Regions from separate parts of the Homo sapiens genome. Here region 1 is linked to region 2. Evidence: promoter capture Hi-C in human tissues and cell types (Jung and others, 2019). All regions are on one chromosome and are shown on one strand. The core of a region is centred on a gene start or on the middle of the fragment in contact, and the rest is flanking DNA. Distances in the headings are between cores, read along the strand shown.

Evidence for each region. Contacts are between HindIII fragments. The study calls those that stand out against the background at their distance.
Region 1: a contact is called between a fragment that was not itself captured here and the fragment with the promoter of KCNG3 in region 2, in 1 of the 25 tissues and cell types used here (H1 embryonic stem cells).

Annotation. Positions count from the first base shown.
Region 1 is chr2:42,734,711-42,739,915 of GRCh38, forward strand. The region is part of intron 16 of MTA3 (metastasis associated 1 family member 3); the gene reads left to right. Among named protein-coding and RNA genes, the nearest start is that of OXER1, 27 kb to the right of the region's middle. The HindIII fragment of the contact is 5,886 bases long and covers 1-5,205 here.
Region 2 is chr2:42,492,561-42,497,587 of GRCh38, forward strand. KCNG3 (potassium voltage-gated channel modifier subfamily G member 3) reads right to left here and starts at 1,422. Exons shown (of 2, transcript NM_133329.6): 1 at 277-1,422. The coding sequence starts at 941. It also overlaps a transcript of MTA3 not described here. RefSeq lists enhancers at 1-366, 367-1,124, 2,449-2,743 and silencers at 1,205-1,294, 1,475-1,524, 1,615-1,694. The HindIII fragment of the contact is 23,685 bases long and covers 1-3,653 here.

The sequences.
Region 1 (5,205 bases), core at 1,238-3,737, 240 kb after region 2:
CTGTTGTATGTTTTTTGATTTCTGGTTACCATAAGGCTTGCAAAAAATATCTTATAACCTGTTATTTTAAACTGATGCCAAGTTGACACTGATTGCATAAACAGACAAACAAATAGGCAAAGAGAAAACTAGTGGAAACTCTCTACACTTTAACTTCATCCCCCGCTTTTTAACTTTTTGTTGTTTATATTTATATCTTATACTGCTTATCTCTTGCAAAGTTGTTGTAGTTATTATTTTTGATAGCTTCATATTTTAGTCTTTCTAGTCAAGATATGAGTAGTTTACAGACAATTACACTGTTATAATATTCTGTGTTTTTCTGTGTGCTTACTATTACCAGTAAGTTTTGTACCTTCAGATCATTTCTTATTGCTCATTAATGTCTTTTTCTTTCAGATTGAAGAACTCCCTTTAGCATTTCTTGTAGGACAGGTATAGTGTTGATGACATTTTTTAGCTTTTGTTTGTCTGGGAAAATCTTTATTACTCCTTCATGCTTGAAGGATATTTTTGCTGGATATACTATTCTAAGATAAAAGTTTTTTTCCTTTAGCACTTTAAATATATCGTGACACTCTATTCTGGCCTGTAAGGTTTCCACTAAGAAGTCTGCTGCCAGACATATTGGATCTCCTTTGTATGATATTTGTTCCTTTTCTCTTGCTACTTTTAGGATCTTTTTAAAATCCTTGACTTTTGGGAGTTTGATTATTAAATGTCTTGAGGTAATCTTCTTTGGGTTAAATGTGCTTGATATCCTATAACCTTCTTGTACTTAAATATTGATATCTTTCTCTAGGTTTGAGAAGTTTTCTGTTATCCCTTTGAATAATCTTTCTACAATCTGTCCCTCTACTTCCTCTTTAAGAACAATAACTTTTAGATTTGCCCCTTTGAAGCTATTTTCTAGATCTTTTAAGTGTGCTTCATTGCTTTTTATTCTTTATTCTCTTGTCTCCTCTGACTGTGTATTTCAAATAGCCTGTCTTCAAGCTGACTAATTCTTTCTTGTGCTTGATCAATTCATTAAGAGACTCTGATGTATTTTTCAGTATGTCAATTGCATTTTTCGCTCCAGAATTTCTGCTTGGGTCTTTTAAATTATTTCAGCATCTTTCTTAATTTTATTCTATTATTGAATTCTGTTGTGCTTCCTCAAAACACTTATTTTGAATTCTCTGTCTGAAAGGACACATATCTCCATCTCTCTGGGATTGGTCACTGGTGTCTTATTTAGCTTGTTTGGTGAGGTCATGTTTTCATGGATGGTCTTGAAGTTTGTGGATATTCTTCAGTGTCTGGGCATTGAAGAGTTAGGTATTTGTTGTAGTCTTCACAGTTTGGGCTTGTTTGTCCGCATCCTTCTTGGGAAGGCTTTCCAACTATTAGAAGGGATTTGGGTGTTGTGATCTAAGTCTTTGTTCACTGCAGCCATACCTGCATTAGGGGGCACCTCCAGCCCAGTAATGCTGTGTCTCTTGCCTTGGTTGTCTTGGGTAAGATCTGGGAGAATTCCCTGGATTACTAGGTGGAGACTCTTGTTCTCTTCTTTTACTTTCACTCAAACAAATGGACACTATGTCTCTGTGCTGAGCTGCCTGGAGCTGGAGAAGGGATGATGACACAAGCACCCCTGTGGCGACTACCACTGGGACAGCTCTGTGTCAGACCTGAAGCCAACACAGCACTGGGGCTCACCCAAGGCCTATGATGATCACTGCCTGGCTACCACCTGTGTTCACTCAAGGTCCAAGGACTCTCCAATCAGCAGGTGGCATATCCAGCCAGGCATCTTCCCTTCAGGGCAGTGAGTTCACTGTGACCCCAAGTAGGTCCAGAGATGCCAACTGGGAGCCAGGGCCTGGAGTCAGGAACCTTAGGAATCTACCTGGTGTTCTACCCTAGAGTGGCCAATCTGGTACCCAAGTTGTAAGACAAAGTCTTCTTACTCTTCTCTCTCCTTTCCTCAAGCAGAAAGAGTCTCTCCTCATAGCCACCCACCTGGGAATGTGCTGGGTCACATCTGAAGCCAGCATGTCTCTGAGTCTCATCCAAGGCACACAACAAGTACTGCCTGGATACCACTGCTGATTATTCAGGGCCCAAGGGCTTTTTAGTCAGCAGCTGGTGAATCCTGCCAGGACTGGATCCTTCCCTTCAAGGCAGTGGGCTTTCTTCCTGCTTGAAGTGTGTTTTCAAATGTCATCTGGGAGTTAGGGCCTGGAATGGGGGCCTCACAGCTGTGTCTGGTGCCCCATCCTACTGTGGCTGAGCCAGTATCAAAGTTGCAAGAGAAAGTCCTCTTTACTCTATCCTTTTCTCTCCTAAGCAGGAGGAAGGAGTCTCTGCAAGGGCTGTGAGCTGTGCTGCCTGAGACTGGGGGAAGTGTGGTGTAAGCATTCCCTTAGCAGCCCTGGCTGGTATCTCACTAGGTGATATGCTCCCCAAGTCCATTGGCTCCAAGACCAGCACAGCACCAGGATTTGCCTAGGAATTGCAGTCCTTGTGGCCTAGACTGCCTTTCAAGTTTATTTAGGAACCCAGAGCACTTTAACCCACAGTGGAAGGGCTTGCCAGAACTCAGGTTCCAACTGCTGGGATGAGCTATTCCCCTCTGGCTAAGGCTGGCCTAAATGCTCCTTCTGTGGGCACCGGCTGAGTTCTGCCTCGTATTGCTTTCCACTGTGTCAGGGCAGCACTGGGTTCCAATGCAAAGTTTCACAATCACTGTGTTCTCCCTCCCTCTTCCCTTCCCTCTTCAGTGCCTGTTTTCTTAATATGATGTTAAAATCAGGTACTGTGATCGCTTACCTGATTTTTGGTTCTTATGAAGGTGCTTTTTTGTGTAGCTAGTTCTTCAATTTGGTGTTCCTTCAGCAGGGACAATTGCTGAAGGCTTCTATTTGATCATCTTGCTCTGCCTCCCTCTTTTCATGTACTTTATATCACTTGGTTTTCCAAATACTTTATGAGGTAAATGTTATAACCTACATTTTAGGAATGGAAAAAATAGAAGCTCAAGAAGGTTGAAGAATTTGCCCAAAGTCGCATTGCTAGAAAGTAGCAGAGATGGGATCTAAACTCCAAATCTAGTGTTTTTTCCACCGAATGAATACAGGCCCAGATTTGTATATTGAATACAGCATTTACAGGCATACCTCAGAGATACTATTGAGTTCAGTTCAACACCACTGCAATAAAGCTAATATCACAATAAAGCAAGTCACATGAGTTTTCTGGTTTCCCAGTGCATATAAAGTTATGTTGGCTGGGAGTGATGGCACATATCTGTAATCCCAACACTTTGGGAGGCCAAGGCAGGCAGATTGCTTGAGCCTAGGAGTTTGAGATCAGCATTGGCAACATGCTGAAACCTTGTCCCTACAAAAAATACAAAAATTAGCTGATCATGGTGGCATGTGCCTGTAGTCCCAGCTACTCGGGAGGCTGAGGTGGGAGGGTGGATTGAGACTGGGAGGTCGGAGCTGCAGTGAGCCAAGATTGCACCACTGGACAAGGCTGGGCAACAGAGTGTGTTGCAGGAAGTCAGGGACCCCAAACAGAGAGACCGGCTGAAACCATGGCAGAAGAACGTGGATTGTGAAGATTTTATGGGCATTTATTAGTTCCCCAAATGAATACTTTTGTAATTTCTTATGCCTGTCTTTACTGCAGTCTCTAAACATAAATTGTAAAGATTTCATGGACACTTACCACTTCCCCAGTCAATACCCTTGTGATTTCCTATGCCCGTCTTTACTTCAATCTCTTAATCCTGTCAGCCGAGGAGGATGTATGTTGCCTCAGGACTATGTGATAATTGCATTAACTGCACAAATTGTACAGCATGTGTGTTTGTGCAATATGAAATCTGAGCACCTTGAAAAACAGGATAACAGCAATTGTTCAGGGAGTAAGAGAGATAACCTTAAACTCTGACTGCTGGTGAGCCAGGCAGAACAGAGCCATATTTCTCTTGTTTCAAAAGCAAATGGGAGAAATATTGCTGAATTCTTTTTCTCAGCATGGAACGTCCCTGAGAAAGAGAATGCGCACGTAGGGGTAGCTCTCTGAACTGGCCCCCCAGGGCGTACCTGTTTCTTATGGTTGAGACTGCAGGGGTGAAATAAACTCCAGTCTCCCATAGCGCTCCAAGGCTTATTAGGAAGAGGAAATTCCTGCTTAATAAATTTTGGTCAGACCGGTTGATCTCAAAACCCTGTCTCCTGATAAGATGTTATCAATGACAATGGTGCCCGAAACTTCATTAGCAATTTTAATTTCGCCTGGGTCCTGTGGTCCTGTGATCTCGCCCTGCCTCCACTTGCCTTGTGATATTCTATTACCCTGTTAAGTACTTGATGTCTGTCACCCACACCTATTTGCACACTCCCTCCCCTTTTGAAAATCCCTAATAAAAACTTGCTGGTTTTTGTGGCTTGTGGGGCATCACAGATCCTACCAACGTGTGATGTCTCCCCCAGATGCCCAGCTTTAAAATTTCTCTCTTTTGTACACTGTCCCTTTATTTCTCAAGCCAGCCGACACTTAGGAAAATAGAAAAGAACCTACGTGATTATCGGGGCAGGTCCCCCAGTAAGAGTGAGACCTTGTCTCAAAAACAAACAGACAATAATTATGTTTACACTATACTGTAGTCTATTAAGTGTGCAATAGCATTATGTATAAAATAACAATGTATATACCTTAATTTTAAAAATACTTTATTGCTAAAAAAAAAAAAAAAGCTAATGATCATCTGAGCCTTCTATGAGTCATAATCTTTTTGCTGCTGGAAGGTCTTGCCTCAATGTTGATGGCCACTGTTGATCAGGATGGTGGTTGCTGAAGCTTAGGGTAGCTGTGACAGTTTCTTAAAGTAAGACCACATTGACATTTGCTACATCAGTGGACTCTTCCTTTCACGAAAGATTTCTTTGTGGCGTGTGATGCTCTTTGATAGTATTTTACCCACATTAGAACTTCTTTCAAAATTAGAGTCAATCCTCTCAAACTCTGCTGCTGCTTTACCAACTAAGTTTATGTAATATTCTAAGTCCTTTATTTTCATCTCAACATGTTCACAGCGTGTTCAGGAGTAGTTTCCATCTTAAGAAACAACTTTCATTGTTCATCCGTAAGAAGCAACTACTCATCTGTTCAAGTTTTATCATGAGATTGTAGCAATTTAGCCACATCTTC
Region 2 (5,027 bases), core at 172-2,671:
GGACATTTGTCTATCTCTACACGCCCCTCCCCATGCCTGAGGATTTCGCCCTCAAGAGGTGCGTCTAGTGTAAGGGCCAGACCCCGCTGGTGCCCCGGACAACGGGGTAGGAGTGGGGACCGACCGGTCCCGTAGTTGGCCGCGCCTGGGCCTCGCTGGGCGCGCACCCCGCTGGCTCGGTCGCCCGGAGGCGGACAGGACGGAGACGGGACGTATGGACGGGACGGACAGACGCGACAGGACGGACGGGACGGGTAGAGAAGCAGTGCGTCCTACCCGGAGGGCTCCCTCCCAGGGCCGGCGGAGTACCTGCTCCGGTCATCCAGGCTGCGGTTGTCGGCGGCTGCGTTGCGCCAGTCGGGCAACGTGCTGGCGCACAGCACCACCATGGACACGATCACGAACACCACCGACACGCTAGCCAGGATCTGCGCGGCCAGCGACGACGTGGGCTCCTCGAAGGTCCGCCGCATGCGCTCCAGCCAGCGCCTGGAGGGAGCCGCCTCGGCCCCGCCGGGGCGCGCCTCGTCGCGGCCCAGCACGCCCGGCTCGTCGGCCGAGTAGAAGGTGTAGGTGTCGGACATGCGGTCGTCGAGGCGGCGCTGGCAGCAGTACTCGAGGTGCGCGCCCTCCAGGCCCCAGTAGATCATCTCGTTGTAGAAGGAGAGCTCGCACATCCGCGGCGCGAAGCGCAGCTTGCCGTGGCCGCGCACGTAGAGCAGGATGAAGCCGAAGGCCTCCGAGTGCCGGTCGAAGAAGTACTCGTTGCGCTCGCGGTCGTAGTCGTCGCACACCTCGAGCACGTCGCGCTCGGAGCGGCAGCCGTGCAGCCGGCTCACGCGGCGCAGCGGGAAGTCCTTCAGCAGCTCCCGGGACAGCGAATACCGGGCGCCGCCCACGTTCAGCACCACCGAGGCCGCCCCGCTGCGCCCGAAGGTCATGGCTGGCCGCCCGGGGGACTTTCGGCCCGAGGGCCCCGCTGCAGCCCCCCACCCCAAGCCGCCACGCGGGGCCTGCCTGCCCGTGGCTGACGGGGGAGCGCGCCGTCGGGGCCCGCGCTCCCTCGGGGCTCCGCTCCTGCCCTCCGCTGGCCCGGGGGTCCCTGGGCTCGAGTATCTCCGGCGCTGCTAGTAGCGCGCCCTCCGCCCGGCGGTACCTGCGGGTGGCCGGGGAGTCCTCGCCGGCGCCAGCGCTGAGCCCCACCGGCTGGGAACGCGGCTGTGTCCGCGCCGCCGACCCTCGCGCCCGAGGGCTGCGCACACCGAGGCCGCGGTGCCCTCTCCCAAGCCGCGGGGCCGACCCCCTGAGGGCTGCGGGCGCCGAATGGAGCCGCCGGGGCGGAATAGCTCCCCGTCTCCGGCGCTCCCTGCGGCCGCGAATCCGGCGGCCGCCCCGCCGCCGTCCAGAGGCGAGAGGCAAAGTGAGCGGGTTCGGAGGCGGCGAAGAGCCGGCTCGCGGCGGCGGGGGCGGGGCCTCTGTGCAGTCCTCCTCCTCGCCCGCCGGCTCCGCGCGCGCCGCTCACCTCCCTCCGCGCCGCCCTCCGCTTCCCGCCCGCGCCCGCACCTCCCCGGCTTGCTCGGGCTGGGATTCCCGGGCGCCCCGCCCTGGACCTCGGGCTCCCCGCCTCGTGACGCCGTCCTCCCCCTCCGCTCCGGCCCGTAGTGGCGGGGAGGGGTCCGCAGGGCGGGGGAGCGGGGAGCCCAGCGCCGGGATGCCTGCTCCCGCGTCCTGCCCTGGGCCATCGGGATGAATTGGGCAGTCCCCAGGGCCCCTTTTAACAGCCCTGGTTCAAAGCCCAGTGTGGACTCGGGTGCGGGGACAGACGGCGTTTGGAGAGCTTTTTCCAGAAACTGTCCGGAGCCCAGCTCGGGTTCTGACATCGCCCCTAAGGATTTCTCAGGGAAGGCATCCCAGCCACGGCTTTTCCTGCCGACTTTGCTCTTCCTACCGCCGCGCGGGGCGACCCACGTACCGCGTGCTCAGAGGGCGGCTACACGCCCCATCCCCCAGCCTCGGTGCCGCCTGCCAGCCCGCGGAGGGAAGCGGTCCCCGACCCGGCCCCGGCCCCCACGTTCTGGGGCGCGAGTCCTGAGAAGGCGCCTAACGTGTAGCGCGCCTGGACCCTCTCGAGATGCTGCCCTTAGAGTGGGATGAAAGTCTGGGGAGGAACGCCTTGTCACCGGCAAAAACAGCCTTTCTCTTGGTCTTCGTCTGCATCCTCCTTTTCAAAATATCTTGATTTCCCCCGCGCACCCCTGACCCGGCTGCAGCACCGGCCCTCCGAGCGGGAAGAGCCCCGTGAAGGCTCCGCAGAGCGATCTACCCCGCGCTCTTGTCCGTGCCCAGAAAGCGGGTTCCACTTGGCAGGGATTATTTTAAACTGCTACCAGCAATTCATTCACCTGACACCCGACACCGGCAGCCCAGCCCGCCGGAGGCGAGACAGGTGAGTTGTAAGGCGAACCGTGTTAGATGCAAAACAAATACTAGAAGAAAAAAATAAGGGTGGGGTAGGGTGAGATGCGGTCATCTGACCACAGGGTAACCTGGCTGGTTAAAGGGAAGAGTTTTTCATTGCCCTCTACTTTTCGTAATTTTGTAGGATTGTCCGGTGCCCGCTAGAGGTCGCCAAACGGAGTCCTTTTGCGCTGGTTCTTAAGTGGATTCCTAGTGAAAAGGCAGACAACTGAAAATGTGAGTGCTGTCTTTTAAGTAAAATCACTCTCGGTGGCTTCTTAAAGAATGAAAATCTCTGTGAGTTGTTTATCCCCAGACTTGGATAATTTATCTTAAGAGCACTAAATGTGATTAAAAGCTCAAAAACAGGAGTTATTTGCTACTTTAGTATCTACTAAATAGTTTGCTATTCAGTATCTATTTTGCTATTTAGTGTCTACTGGGTAGATACTGCTACTTTGCTGTTTAGTATCTACTAAGTAGATATTAAACAAGAAAAATATCTGTAAGAAAGTGAGTTTCAAGACAGAATTGGAGGTGCTGATGGCCATGAGTTGGCACAGAGAAAGGGCAAAACATTCCTAGTAGCAAAATCTCGAATGTGGAGGTTTAAAGTCTGTGAAGAAGTATAATGCACTTGCCCACTGAAACAATGGGGATCTCAACTGCAGCATTTAAATTGGATCCCATAAGCAATGGAATCCCTGGAGGTTTCCATAGCAGAAATGGCTTGATGAAAGCTTTATTTCAGGAAGATGCCTTTGCACTTTGGGTCATTCTAAGGAGAAGGTCATTTCGCAACCCAGGAATGGGATCCCCAACCCCGTGTCTGTGAAGATGAAGAAGGGTCTGTTCTGAGAAACGCTGAGACCAAGAACTTTGCAGGTCTTGAAGATGGATTTGTTGTAGGACGTGAGGATGGGGAAAAGTTTGCAGATGTGAGCCAGAGATGAGCCTGGCTTGATACCAAGAGCCAATTCATCAGGAAGCCGTTAAAAAATACTTTCTAGAAGCATCACAAGCAATAGAAGACAGAACTATAGTGCCGATTGTTTGCTCTAACATTATTGTAGGGTTTATTTCCTGTGTTCTCTCCGTAGAATCCTTCTACTGTCTGTTGATTGAACCAGTTGAAGAAATATCTCATTTTAAATTACATTTGAGCTTAGAAAACAAATTAATTTGATGACAATACAATGTGTGCCTCCTAGGTATATTTTCATGCGATTTCTTAGAGAGATAGGCTTAAATCATTTCATTTGTTTCAAGAGTAATATTTTTATTTGATTTTAATATCATCAACCACTGCTGCAGCAGCAATACCCAAATCGTTTTCTTAAACAAAGAAAACAGTGATGCAGAAATGATAGGCTTGTCTCAATATAATCTGGTTTAGAGAGCATTCTTAAAGCCAATTCTATTCTTTGTACTTTGAGAAGATAATGTTGAGAAGTATTACATCCAGATTCTCTCCTAGACTCGGGATGGTATTTAGGGTCTTCATATCTAAATCTTTAGAATGCATTACAATTTAAAGGTAGAATTTTAGAGTTTGAAAGAACCTAGAGGTTTTCTAGTTTCAGAACCTAGGAAAAAAAAAAAAAAAAAAAAGCAAATTACTCCCATTTTTTCCTCCCCTCCGAAGTTACAAAGCTTCAGAGATGTGGCTGTAACTAGCCCGAGCATTCCCAGCAGCAGCATCCTGGCAGAGGCTAGAATCAGGTTTTCTCATGTCAAACTCTGCTCACTCTGTTTCCAGGGCCTGGATTGCTGCCACAACCTTCTACCTCATCTCTTTGCACTCCAGTTCTTTCCTATCTCTATGAATTCTGAATAAGGCCACCACAGAGCTCTTCCTTCCATCCATTTTCATCAGGGCATTCCCAAATTCAAAAACCTGAAAGGTGGCTGGGTGTGGTGGCTCACGCCTGTAATCTCAGCACTTTGGAAGGCCGAGGCAGGCAGATCACCCAAGTTCAGGAGTTCGAGACCAGCTTGGCCAACATGGTGAAACCCGTTTCTACTAAAAATTCAAAAAATTAGCCAGGCATGGTGGTGCACACCTGTAATCCCAGCTACTGGGGAGGCTGAGGCAGGAGAATCGCTTGAACCTGGGAGGCAGAGGTTGCAGTGAGCTGAGATTGTGCCATTGGACTCCAGCCTGGGCTACAAGAGCAAAACTCCTCTTGAAACTAGAGGTTTTCAAAAAAAAACAAAACAAACAAAACCTAAAAGGAGTATATAAAAGTAGATAATTAGAAATTGTCCATACAATAAAGTCCAAATTGGCCAGGCGCGGTGGCTCATGCCTGTAATCCCAGCACTTTGGGAGGCCGAGGCAGGTGGATCATGAGGTCAGGAGTTCGAGAGCAGCCTGGCCAAGATGGTGAAACCCCGTCCCTACTAAAAATACAAAAATTAGCTGGGCGTGGTGGTGCGCCCCTGTAATCCCAGCTACTCAGGAAGCTGAGGCACGAGAATCGCTTGAACCCGGGAGGCAGAAGTTGCAGTGAGCCGAGATCGCTCCACTGCCCTTGAGCCTGGGTGATGGAGCGAGACTCCATCTCAAA